Regions from separate parts of the Homo sapiens genome. Here all the other regions are linked to region 3. The links are contacts of gene promoters, found by promoter capture Hi-C in human tissues and cell types (Jung and others, 2019). All regions are on one chromosome and are shown on one strand. The core of a region is centred on a gene start or on the middle of the fragment in contact, and the rest is flanking DNA. Distances in the headings are between cores, read along the strand shown. Region 1 overlaps MCU (mitochondrial calcium uniporter). Region 2 overlaps PLA2G12B (phospholipase A2 group XIIB). Region 3 holds the start of OIT3 (oncoprotein induced transcript 3).

Region 1 (3,721 bases), core at 1,078-3,577, 63 kb before region 3:
ATAGTTTACACTGCTAATTGGAGTATCCGTATAAGCACTGAATTTTGGAGACAGGTTTGGCAAAGTTGCTGAAACATGGGTACTCTGGTCTTAGAAAAGAAATTTTTGGAACATTATTGAAAGGGGTTCATTTTTTATAAGCATTCCATGTTGTGCTAAGGGAAATGTAACAGGGAGATACAAGTGGTCATATCCAAACTTAAGGCAGAGTGAGGCTATTTATAATAAGATTTTAGCCATGGACAAATATATAGATACAGTGTTCCATCTAAAGCTGTTTGATGTAGTTAATGTAGTTTAGTTTGAGGTAGCTAATAGGTGTTTGTTTCTTAATGAAATTAGATCCCAAGATTTTCTTAAAGGGAACTAGGTTAATAAGGAAATAACTTTCCCTCTCTTTCTCTTTCTCTCTCCCCCTGCCACTCCCTCCCTTCCTCCCCCTCAGCATTCCCCTTCCTTTAGCCTGATGTCTAACTGGCTGTGAATATTTGGGGGCTATTGACAGGTTATTTAGATTTGACAATCCTCCCAAGTTTCTGGAAGGAGTATACTGTTGAGTTTGCTCTTTTGAACTATGAAAGATGAATTAGGTATAGTTGAATAATTTATGATCATAGTAAGGAATTTAAAAGTAAATTTTGACTTGAATTTAATAATTTTCTGAGGACATAAAATATCTTTTTTATCATTCTAATTTTTATTGGCTTAAATCTTATGTTTTGGAGAAATAAAGTTACAGTGTTTTGTAACCTGACTCTAAATTGATAACACTAGGGATTAAGATCAAAGGTAAATGATTATAATACTGTGGCAGACGTTATACTTTCTTTTAGTTCCAAGTCCCTGATTTTCCTTAAAGTTCTCAAGTTACTTATTAAAGATATGGACTGGTACCAAAAGAATAAACTTGCTGTTTCTTTTCAAGGAACTATGGGAGCACCAAATCACCTTATTCATTTGGCACCAATATTTCTAGGGAGGCCGGGCGCCTTGGCTAATGCCTGTGATCCCAGCACTTTGGGAGGCCAGGGTGTGCAGATCACTTGAGTTCAGGAGTTCGAGACCAGCCAGGCCAACATGGTGAAACCCTGTCTCTACTAAAAAATATAAAAATTAGCCGGGTATGGTTGGTGCTCGCCTGTAGTCCCAGCTACTCGGGAGGCTGAGGCAGGAGAATTGCTTGAACCCAGGAGGCAGAGATTGCAGTGAGCCAAGATTGTGCTACTGCACTCCAGCCTGGGCAACAGAGAGAGACACTGTCTCAAAAAAAAAAAAAAAAAAAAGTTCCTAGAGATTTTCCCTTTCTCTGATAATTTTTGAAATACTTTCTAAATAATTAACTTTAATCTTTGTATCTGCCAAGATTTAACTTAATTAACTTTACTTAACTTTAATCTTGGTATCTGCCTATGAAATTTAAATATATAAATATCACATATCATTTGCCTGAATGTTTTTGCTGACTTTTCTTTCTTTTTTAACTTCTTGATATATTTTTCAAACTTTCAGCCTCAGTCAAATATTTATTAAAAGCTTCCAAGGAAAGTAAAGGGTAAAAAAAAAAAAACCTAAACAGTAAAGGAAAAAAACTTTTACAAACTTACTATTTTCTTGTGACATGTTAAAAATACAAAATTTAAACCATGAAATATTTTCAATTTAGGGGAATTATGGAAGAGTTTAGAATAGCAATGGTTCTTTGATCTTGAGCTCTTACAATTGCTTCCTTGGTTTTTGTTTTTTGTTTGTTGTTGCCATATTTCAAGGAAAAAAGGCAAGAGCAAAATAATTTTTGTTTTTGTTGTCTTTAGTAGATTCTAAGCTTCTGGAAAGTTTAAAGAAATAAAAGGACTTACATGTGTGTTTGTAAATACTTAATATGTAGTATTTTATAATTGCCAGTGTCATTATAGAAGTAGGCGGGAAGGACTTTGAGAAAGTGAGTTGTCCCAAAACTACAGAAACTGTTCTATAAGCAAGGATCAACAAACATTTTCTTAAAGGGCCAGATGGTAAATATTTGATACTTTGTGGGCCGTGTGGTCTCTGTTGCAGCTACTCAACTCTTGCAGCTATATACCAACCACTCAGTTTTGCTGTTGTGATGTGAAAGTAGTTGAGTGGGGTATAGAGAGTAAGTAAATGAATGAGCTTTGTTATGTTCTAATAAAATTTATTTACAAAAACAGGCAGCCAGCTTGCCAACCCATGTTCTATATCATCTAACAAATATTACTCATAACCAGCCATGTATTAATGTGGTTCACTGCCCCACAAAAACATCTTTTATTATTGTCAAGGATAATTTATGAACTCATAGAGGACAGAGGATTTCTGTTGTAAAACGGCCCAGTGTATGTATATTGAAGTGATATGATGGTTGGGATTTCCTTTTAAGAGATACGGAAGGGGAAAAACTGGGTGGCTGTAGATGAACTGAATTTGATAAAATGTTGATAAATATAGAAGCAGATGATAGGTTCATGAGATTTCTTCACACTGTGCTTCCTACTGTATGTGTCTGAAGATGTCAGTATTTAAAAGTTACTACATAAACAAATAATGGCCCAGTAAAGGCAGCAGTTTCTCCCTTCTCTTCTCACATCTTAGAATAGGAAGGAGAATAAGATAAAAATACAGACCCCATCTTCAGCACAACTAGGGAGATCTCTGCAATTCCAAAACACTAATTATATAAAGGAAGGTTGCCAGATCCAGTGAAGGTCAAGTAGAGGTGTGTGGGGAAACCCTGAGGAATGACACCTGTGGTCGCAGATCCCCAACAAAGCCAGCCAAACACAGTTCTCCAAAGGAAGCTGCCGACCTCAGACTTCTCCAAAGCAGTATTCAACACTGATTCTTTCCCTTCCAAATCCTCAAGGAAAGATTAATTTAGAAATTAACATGCCAAGCTGCAGGAAATTTAGCTCTCATGAGTCCTACTTCTACAGGAAGATGTGCAGCCAACCAAGAAATGAAAGGAGAAACTACAGCTAAAGTATTGGCAGTGAACATAGAGTCCATTGATCTATAGCATTAAGACTAAAACAAATGTGGAAATTAGATTTACAGAGAAGAATATGAATCGTTAAAACCTTGACAGTGCAGTAATGAAAGTCGGAAAGATGAGGAAATAAATGATGTTGTCATGTTTTATAACAACCTGTCAAAAGATGTCATTTGAAATCAGTAAATCTAGTAAAATCTTAAGATTGGGGTGGAGGGGAGTCTGTAGTTGATACATAGATACGTAGGTTAGAGCGAAAGGTAAATGCTAAGAGAAATAATCTAATAAACGAAACCGAATGGTAGAGGGAAAGAAAAAAGAAACATAGCTGTATTAATCATTGCTGACGATAGAGATAGGATTTTTATATGTTACAGTATATTTTATATAAAATTATAGTTATAACATAAACTATAAAATATAGGGTTGGTTTTTGTTTTGTTTTGTTTTGTTTTTTGCCTAACATGTATTTGATGAGGACTTGTTATTTGTCAAGCACTGTCAGTGACCAAAACAGATGAAAATTTTTGCTTCGTGGGTTGGAGGAGACAAAAATAAGTAAATAATTTGTTAAGAGGTGTTAAATGTATGGGGGGAAAATACAGCATAAAAGGATTCGGAGTACCCATTGATGAGATTGCTTTTTTTGAAGTGGATGAGTAGAGCAAATATTTGAAGGAACTGAGGGAGCCATGTAGTTATCTAGAGAAACAG
Region 2 (3,275 bases), core at 445-2,944, 45 kb after region 3:
CAATTTTTTTAAATTGGTTCATTGAAAAGATAAAAAATGTTAACAAACTTTTAGCTAGACTAACCAAGAAAAAAAGAGAGGACTCAAATTACCAAATTAAGGAATGAGAGAGAAATGTCACTAACAATCTTATAGAAATAAAAAGGATTAGGGCCGGGCACGGTGGCTTACGCCTGTAATCCCAGCACTTTGGGAGGCCGAAGCAGGCAGATCACGAGGTCAGGAGACCTCCTGGCTAACAAGACCATCCTGGCTAACACGGTGAAACCTTGTCTCTACTAAAAATACAAAAAATTAGCCAGGCGTGGTGGCGGGCGCCTGTAGTCCCAGCTACTCAGGAGGCTGAGGCAGGAGAATGGCGTGAACCCGGAGGCAGAGCTTGCAGTGAGCCGAGATCACACCACTGCACTCCAGCCTGGGCGACAGAGCGAGACTCCATCTCAAAAAAATAAAAATAAAAAGGATTATAAGGGAATACTATGAATACCTACATGCCAAAAAATGTTGATAACTTGGATGGAATGGACAAATTCGTAGAAAGACGTGAACTGCTGAAACTGACTCAAGAAGAATAGAAAATATGAATAGATTACTAGTGTATATAAATACAATTACTAACCCAAGCTCGTGATTTAGTAATTAAAAACTTCCCCAAAGAAATCCAATTCTACTTGGCTTCACTGGGGAATTTTACCAAACATTTAAAGAATTAATATCAATCCTTTCTAAGCTTTTTAAAAAATTAGGAGAGAAGGGATCACTGCCCAATTCATTTTATGAGGTCAATATTACTCTCATACCAAAACCAAAGACATCACAAAAATAACAATCTATAGACTAGTATCTCTTATGAATATGGATGCAAAATCCTCAACAAAATAGTAGTAAACTGAATCCAGTAACATATAAAAAGGTTTACATCATGACTAAGTGGGATTTAGCCTAAGAATGCTAAATCATACTAAAATCAATTAATATGATACACTACATCAATAGGATATAGAACAAATACCACATGATCATCTCAATAGATGCAGAAAAAGCATTTGAAAACATCCAACACTTTTTCACGATAAAAACACTTGGCCAGGTGTGGTGGCTCACGCCTGTAATCCTAGCACTTTGGGAGGCTGAGGCAGGAGTTCCAGACCAGCCTGACAACATGGCGAAACCCCGTCTCTACTAAAAATACAAAAATTAGCTGGGCATGGTGGTGGGCACCTGTAATCCCAGCTACTCAGGAGGCCAAGGCAGGAGAATCGCTTGAACCCGGGGTGTGGAGGTTGCAGTGAGCCAAGATCACACCACTTCACTCCAGCCTGGGTGTAAGAGTGAAACTCCATCTCAGAAAAAAAAAAAAAAAGAAAGAAAGAAAGAAAGAAAAATTAAAAGAAAACATTCAACCAACTGGGAAAAGAGGAGAACTCCCACAACCTAATAAAGGTCGTCTAATGACAGTCATAGCTAACAATCATTCTCAATGGTGAAAGATGAAATGCTTTTACTCTAAGATCAGGAACAAGACAAAAATGTCCACTCGCAATACTTCTATTCAATGTTGTGTTGGAAGCTCTAGCCAGGGCAATTAGGCAAGAGAAAAAATTTAAAAAATCCAAATTGGAAAGGAAGATGATATGCAGATGGCATTATCTTATATACAAAAAAGCCTATGGAATCCATGAAAAAAAATATTAGAACTAAGGAGTTATTTCAGCTGGGTTGCAGGATATAAGATCAATGTACAAAAATCAAATGAATTTCTATACATTATTAATAAATAATCTGAAAATAAAATTTAAATACAATTACATTTCAATAACATTAAAAAGAATAAAATACTTAGGAATAAATTTAACAGAAGTCCAAGATTTGTACTGTGAAAACTATAAACACATTGTTGAAATAAATTAAAGAAGACCTAAATAAATGGAAAGGACATTGATATAAATATAATCTTGTTAAGATGGCAATATTCTCAAATTGATCTATAGATTCAACCATAACCCTCTCAAAATTCTAGCTGCCATTCCTTGGAGAAATTGACAAGCAGTTCCTAAAATTCATATGGAAATGTGAGGGATCCAGAATATCCAAAATAGTCTTGACAGAAAAGTACACAGTTTAAGAACACATCTTGATTTCAAAATTTACTGCATAACGACAGTAACAGGCAGCATGGTCCTGACATAGATCAGTGGAATAGAATTGCGCATCTAGAAATAAATCCTAACCTTTATGGTCAATTGATTTTTGACAATGTCCAGAATAGGCAGTTCTAGAGGTAGAAAGTAGATTCATGGTTTCCTCAAGCTGGGCAGGGGGAGTTTGGGGAGAGACCGTTAATGGCCCTGGGGCTCCTTTTCAGGGTGATGAATATGTTCTAAAATTGACTGTGGGATTGACTGCATAACTCTGTGAACATATTTAAAAGCATTTAAGTGGGTGAATTGTATCATGTGTGAATTGTAGCTTAATAAATCTGTTTCAACAACAACAAAAATGAATGATTAGGGCGTTTCACACAGGGGCAGAAAGGAATGGGCCATCAACCCAAGGAGTTTGATTCACCAGGTTGGAAACACTTTGTGTAGAATCTACGAAGGGACATTTCTGAGCCTACTGAGGCCCATAAGGAAAAATCAAATATTCTGTGATAAAAATGAGAAATAAGCGATCTTTGAAAATGCTTTTTGAGGATTCACCTCACAGAATGGAACCTGTGTTTTGATTCACCGGGTTGGAAACACTCTTTTTGTAGAATCTACAAAGGGACGTTTCTGAGCCCATTGAGGCCTATAAGAAAAACATCTAATATCCCGTGATAAAAACTAGAAACAAGCTATCTGAAAATGCTTTGTGATGTGTGGATTCATCTCACAGAAAGGAACCTGTGTTTTGATTCACCAGGTTGGAAACACTCTTTTTGTAGAATCTACGAAGGGACAGTTCTGAGCCCACTGAAGCAGGAGTCAAGAGACAGACCAGAAATGCCCAAGATAATGGTGGAGAGGAAGGCTAGGGCTGAATCAGAAAGGGCCATGTATGGCATACTGAGGAGTTTGGATTTCATCCGTAAGGAGGAGGAATCTATTGAATGATTTACACAGGGGGTTGAGATGATCACATTCATGTGGCATATCTGGTCCCAATGGTGACTATCAATTAGATGGGACACAGAGACTGGGTTAATTTGCAGTAACCAGGCAAGTGGGATATGAAAGAGATATTTGGGAGAATGAATCAACAGGACATTGCTTGCAGGAAGTAACTTGACC
Region 3 (3,750 bases), core at 576-3,075:
AATAAAAGGAATATTTGGAACTATTGGAGCAATTTAAATATGGATTGGATATGAGTTAAGGAATTATTACTAATTTTCATAGTTGTAATAAAAGCATCATGATTATGTAAAAAAATACAATGTGTTAGAAATGCATACTGGTATGTAAATGAAATTGATAGAATGTTAGTAATTATTATAGCTGAGTGTTCATTATTGTTCTTTATACTTTTGTATATATATTTGAAATTTTTCATCATAAAAAGTAAAAAATGAAAGAGCAGGTCAACTAAAAAGGAAAAAATAGAAATAAGGGGGAAAAAACATCTTACCATCCTGGGAATTCTTGTTTACAGAACCAAAGGCTATCTGGTGAAAGTCCTTGACTCCAGCAATCAATCCTGGCAACAAGTCTGGGTTTATCTCATGCACACGTCCTCTGTTTCTCTGCAACACATATGAAGCCCTCAGATGGCTTCCTAGGCGCAGGAAGTTGTGGGGGATTGTTTTTTCTGTTTAAAGCACTGATACTTAGCAACACTATCCTGCAATGAGACAGCAGAGTCATCCATTGCTGCCATCAAACCACAACTTAATAAGTTAATGGTCAAATTGCCTGTGTCCCACTGATGTTAGTAATGAAGTAGCTAACTACAATTTTAGATCAATGGAAACCCCTTGCTTGACCATAAACCCTGTGCTTCTGGAGACCATGTGTACTTTTGTCATTGTCAAAAACCAGTGATTGCCCGAGCTCGGTGGCTCACACCTGTAATCCCAGCACTTTGGGAGGCCAAGGCAGGCGGATCACGAGGTCAGGAGATCGAGACCATCCTGGCTAACACAGTGAAACCCTGTCTCTACTAAAAATACAAAAAAATTAGCTGGGCGTGGTGGTGGGCGCCTATAGTCCCAGTTACTTGGGAGGCTGAGGCAGGAGAATGGCGTGAACCCGGGAGGCGAAGCTTGCAATGAGCCGAGATCACACCACTGCACTCCAGCCTGAGCGACAGAGTAAGACTCCGTCTGAAAAAAAAAATTGTGCTAAGAAGCACATTTTCTCTCCTTTGTCTAAAAGTGAAACTTCAGGAAATTTTGACATTTAATTTTCCAGAGTGTTAATTTAATGAGTAGTTTCTAATTTTAAGCTCCTACCCCATCTTAATGTGAGAATTAGTGAAATAAATAACATTAAACCATTTTTTAATTTTGGGAGTAAAGACAATAAAAATATGAGGTATTGCTGCTTGAATTAGTAAAAACACAATTTAAACCTTGTTTCTTTCAGAAGTTTTGAGGCCAAAGACCGTAATAAAACAAACTCAGGAGCTTATTTCAAGAGAATACTGTCCTTGTCTCATACCTGTCCTTACTACTTTGTTTTGTGTGCTATTATAAGCTCCTCAACCATCTGACCAAGACAGTTGCAGTGATTTGGCTTCATCCATTCTCGTTTAGTGTGCAGTGCTATGGCTGCAACATTGTGAAATCAATTCCTAGAAGTCACAAAGCAAGAATTTGACGTGAAGGGATGTCCCTCATTTAGAATTCCCTTCTGGATAAGATACTGGGGTTTCATTGCAGGGAATTCTTGAGAGAAAACAATAGGAGGATGAGGGATTGTGAGTTGTGTTTTTTTTTTTTTTTCCTAAAGAAAACTATTAATAAAGGAACCCTGTTGACAGTGTAAAGCAGTGCTTCTCTCTGGGGCCAAGGCCAGAGCTGTGGACACCTTATCCCACTCATCCTCATCCTCTTCCTCTGATAAAGCCCCTACCAGTGCTGATAAAGTCTTTCTCGTGAGAGCCTAGAGGCCTTAAAAAAAAAAGTGCTTGAAAGAGAAGGGGACAAAGGAACACCAGTATTAAGAGGATTTTCCAGTGTTTCTGGCAGTTGGTCCAGAAGGATGCCTCCATTCCTGCTTCTCACCTGCCTCTTCATCACAGGCACCTCCGTGTCACCCGTGGGTGAGTCTCATGTCAAGAACTTGGCACAATGCACTTTTTGTTGTGGCAATTTGCTATAATGTACAGATGATTAAGAACTAGATTCCAGTACCTTAAATGCTAGCTCTAGAATCTTGTAAGAAAAGTCCCTAATAATCCTTGAAAATAGATTTCCCGAGAATTTCTGTTACATGTTCCATTTAGCCTCTTGCCTGGACTCCAAAATTTCCATGGATCTGCCATATCCCACAGCTTTCACTAGCTAAAGAGTTCCTGGAGTATGTGTAAAAATAATTCTATCTTCTTTGTGTTCTAGGCACTTTATAGTTCCAACTTGAAGAGCCAAAAAAAAAAAAATTAAAGTTGAGCATAGAATTTTTCTTTAATGAAGGCAAGGGACTGAAAGCTCTGTTGCCATGGGGGGCACAGATCTGGATAAACCAAACTCATTAGTCTTTATGTCAGAAAATAAGACTTTTTGCACAGATCGAGTGAATCTTAAATTGTCTCCCTCCTCAGGCTTGGTGCAAAACTGGCCAGTCAGGCAAAGAAAAGTTTCAATTCCAGTTACTAACAGATTTCTCTCTTGCATCTTTTTCTAGTAGAATGTGAGTACTAACTGGAACAGAGGGTGGGGGTGAGATGGAGAGAACCATCCTTCTTGACACTTTTGAGTAGCTCAGTATCTAATTGACCCTGGCTTATTTCTTCATGGTTGCTCTAGTACCTGAAAGGATACACATTAAAAATAGGCTTGTGGCCAGGCACGGTGGCTCACACTTGTAATGCCAGCATTTGAGAGGCCAAGGCGGGTGGATCACCTGAGGTCAGGAGTTCAAGACCAGCCTGGCCAACATGGTGAAACTCCGTCTCTACTAAAAATACATACACACAAAAAAATTAGATGGTCATGGTGTTGCATGCCTGTAATTCCAGCTACTTGGGAGGCTGAGGCGGGAGAATCACTTGAACTCGGGATGTGGAGGTTGCAGTGAGCCGAGATCGAACCACTGCACTCCAGCCTGGGCAACAGAGGGAGACTCCATCTCAAAAAAATAAAAATAAAAATAAAAATGGTGATTTGAGACCCTAAGGAGACCTGACACCTAAAGGTAATGTGGGATCCTGGAACAGAAAGATATGGGTGGAAACTAAGGGAATCTGAATAAGTGTGGACTTGAGTTAATAATCAGGTATCAATAGTGGGTCATTAATGTGACAAAGGTACCATGCCAATGTGTGGTAAATGTATGGCTAAAGGTAACGTGTCATAACAAGGGAAACTGGGTGTGGGGTATGTGGGATCTCTTTGTCCTATCATCTCAATTATGCTGTAAATCCAAAACTATTCCAAAAAATATGCTTGAGCTACCTGTCATTAATCACCCCCTATCTGCTGCCAATAACTAACCCAAGGGTCGCTCAGAAAGTTGTCCTCCCGAAAATCTCCACTCCCCTTTCTTCCCACCCTTCTCCTTACCTATTCTCCCTCTAGTACCTCCTATATTCCCCATTCTTTCCATATACCATCGCCCTTCCCAGATCTTTTCCTCCAACCCCCAGCTCCTCAAGGATGATATTTGGCTCAATGCCAGAAGCATGATAAAGGGGGAACTTTGGGAACTAGAGCTGGTGTTTGCCCTGAGAGGACAGGGGAAGTGAGAGAAGAGGAAAAGAAGGGATGAGAAAGGGGGAAGCAAAGTGGGGTGATGAGGGAGGAGGATGGAAGAGGATGGAGCAGGAAAGGAGGGGCACTTCCCGACCAAGCTCAGGCACAGGGTCGAAAAGGGGCTGTGATTCAGGGGCGGCTGTCTGCCGGATAGGA

What was found. The method cuts DNA at HindIII sites, captures the fragments that hold promoters and counts their contacts. A contact is called where the count stands out against the background at its distance.
Region 1: a fragment that was not itself captured here is called in contact with the fragment with the promoter of OIT3 in region 3 in 1 of the 25 tissues and cell types used here (psoas muscle).
Region 2: a fragment that was not itself captured here is called in contact with the fragment with the promoter of OIT3 in region 3 in 1 of the 25 tissues and cell types used here (aorta).

What each region holds. Positions count from the first base shown.
Region 1 is chr10:72,828,060-72,831,780 of GRCh38, forward strand. All of the region lies in intron 1 of MCU (mitochondrial calcium uniporter), which reads left to right. Among named protein-coding and RNA genes, the nearest start is that of OIT3, 64 kb to the right of the region's middle. The HindIII fragment of the contact is 6,518 bases long and covers 1-3,721 here.
Region 2 is chr10:72,936,768-72,940,042 of GRCh38, forward strand. All of the region lies in intron 3 of PLA2G12B (phospholipase A2 group XIIB), which reads right to left. Among named protein-coding and RNA genes, the nearest start is that of PLA2G12B, 16 kb to the right of the region's middle. The HindIII fragment of the contact is 4,211 bases long and covers 1-3,275 here.
Region 3 is chr10:72,891,914-72,895,663 of GRCh38, forward strand. OIT3 (oncoprotein induced transcript 3) reads left to right here and starts at 1,826. Exons shown (of 9, transcript NM_152635.3): 1 at 1,826-1,946. The coding sequence starts at 1,886. The HindIII fragment of the contact is 12,875 bases long and covers 1-3,750 here.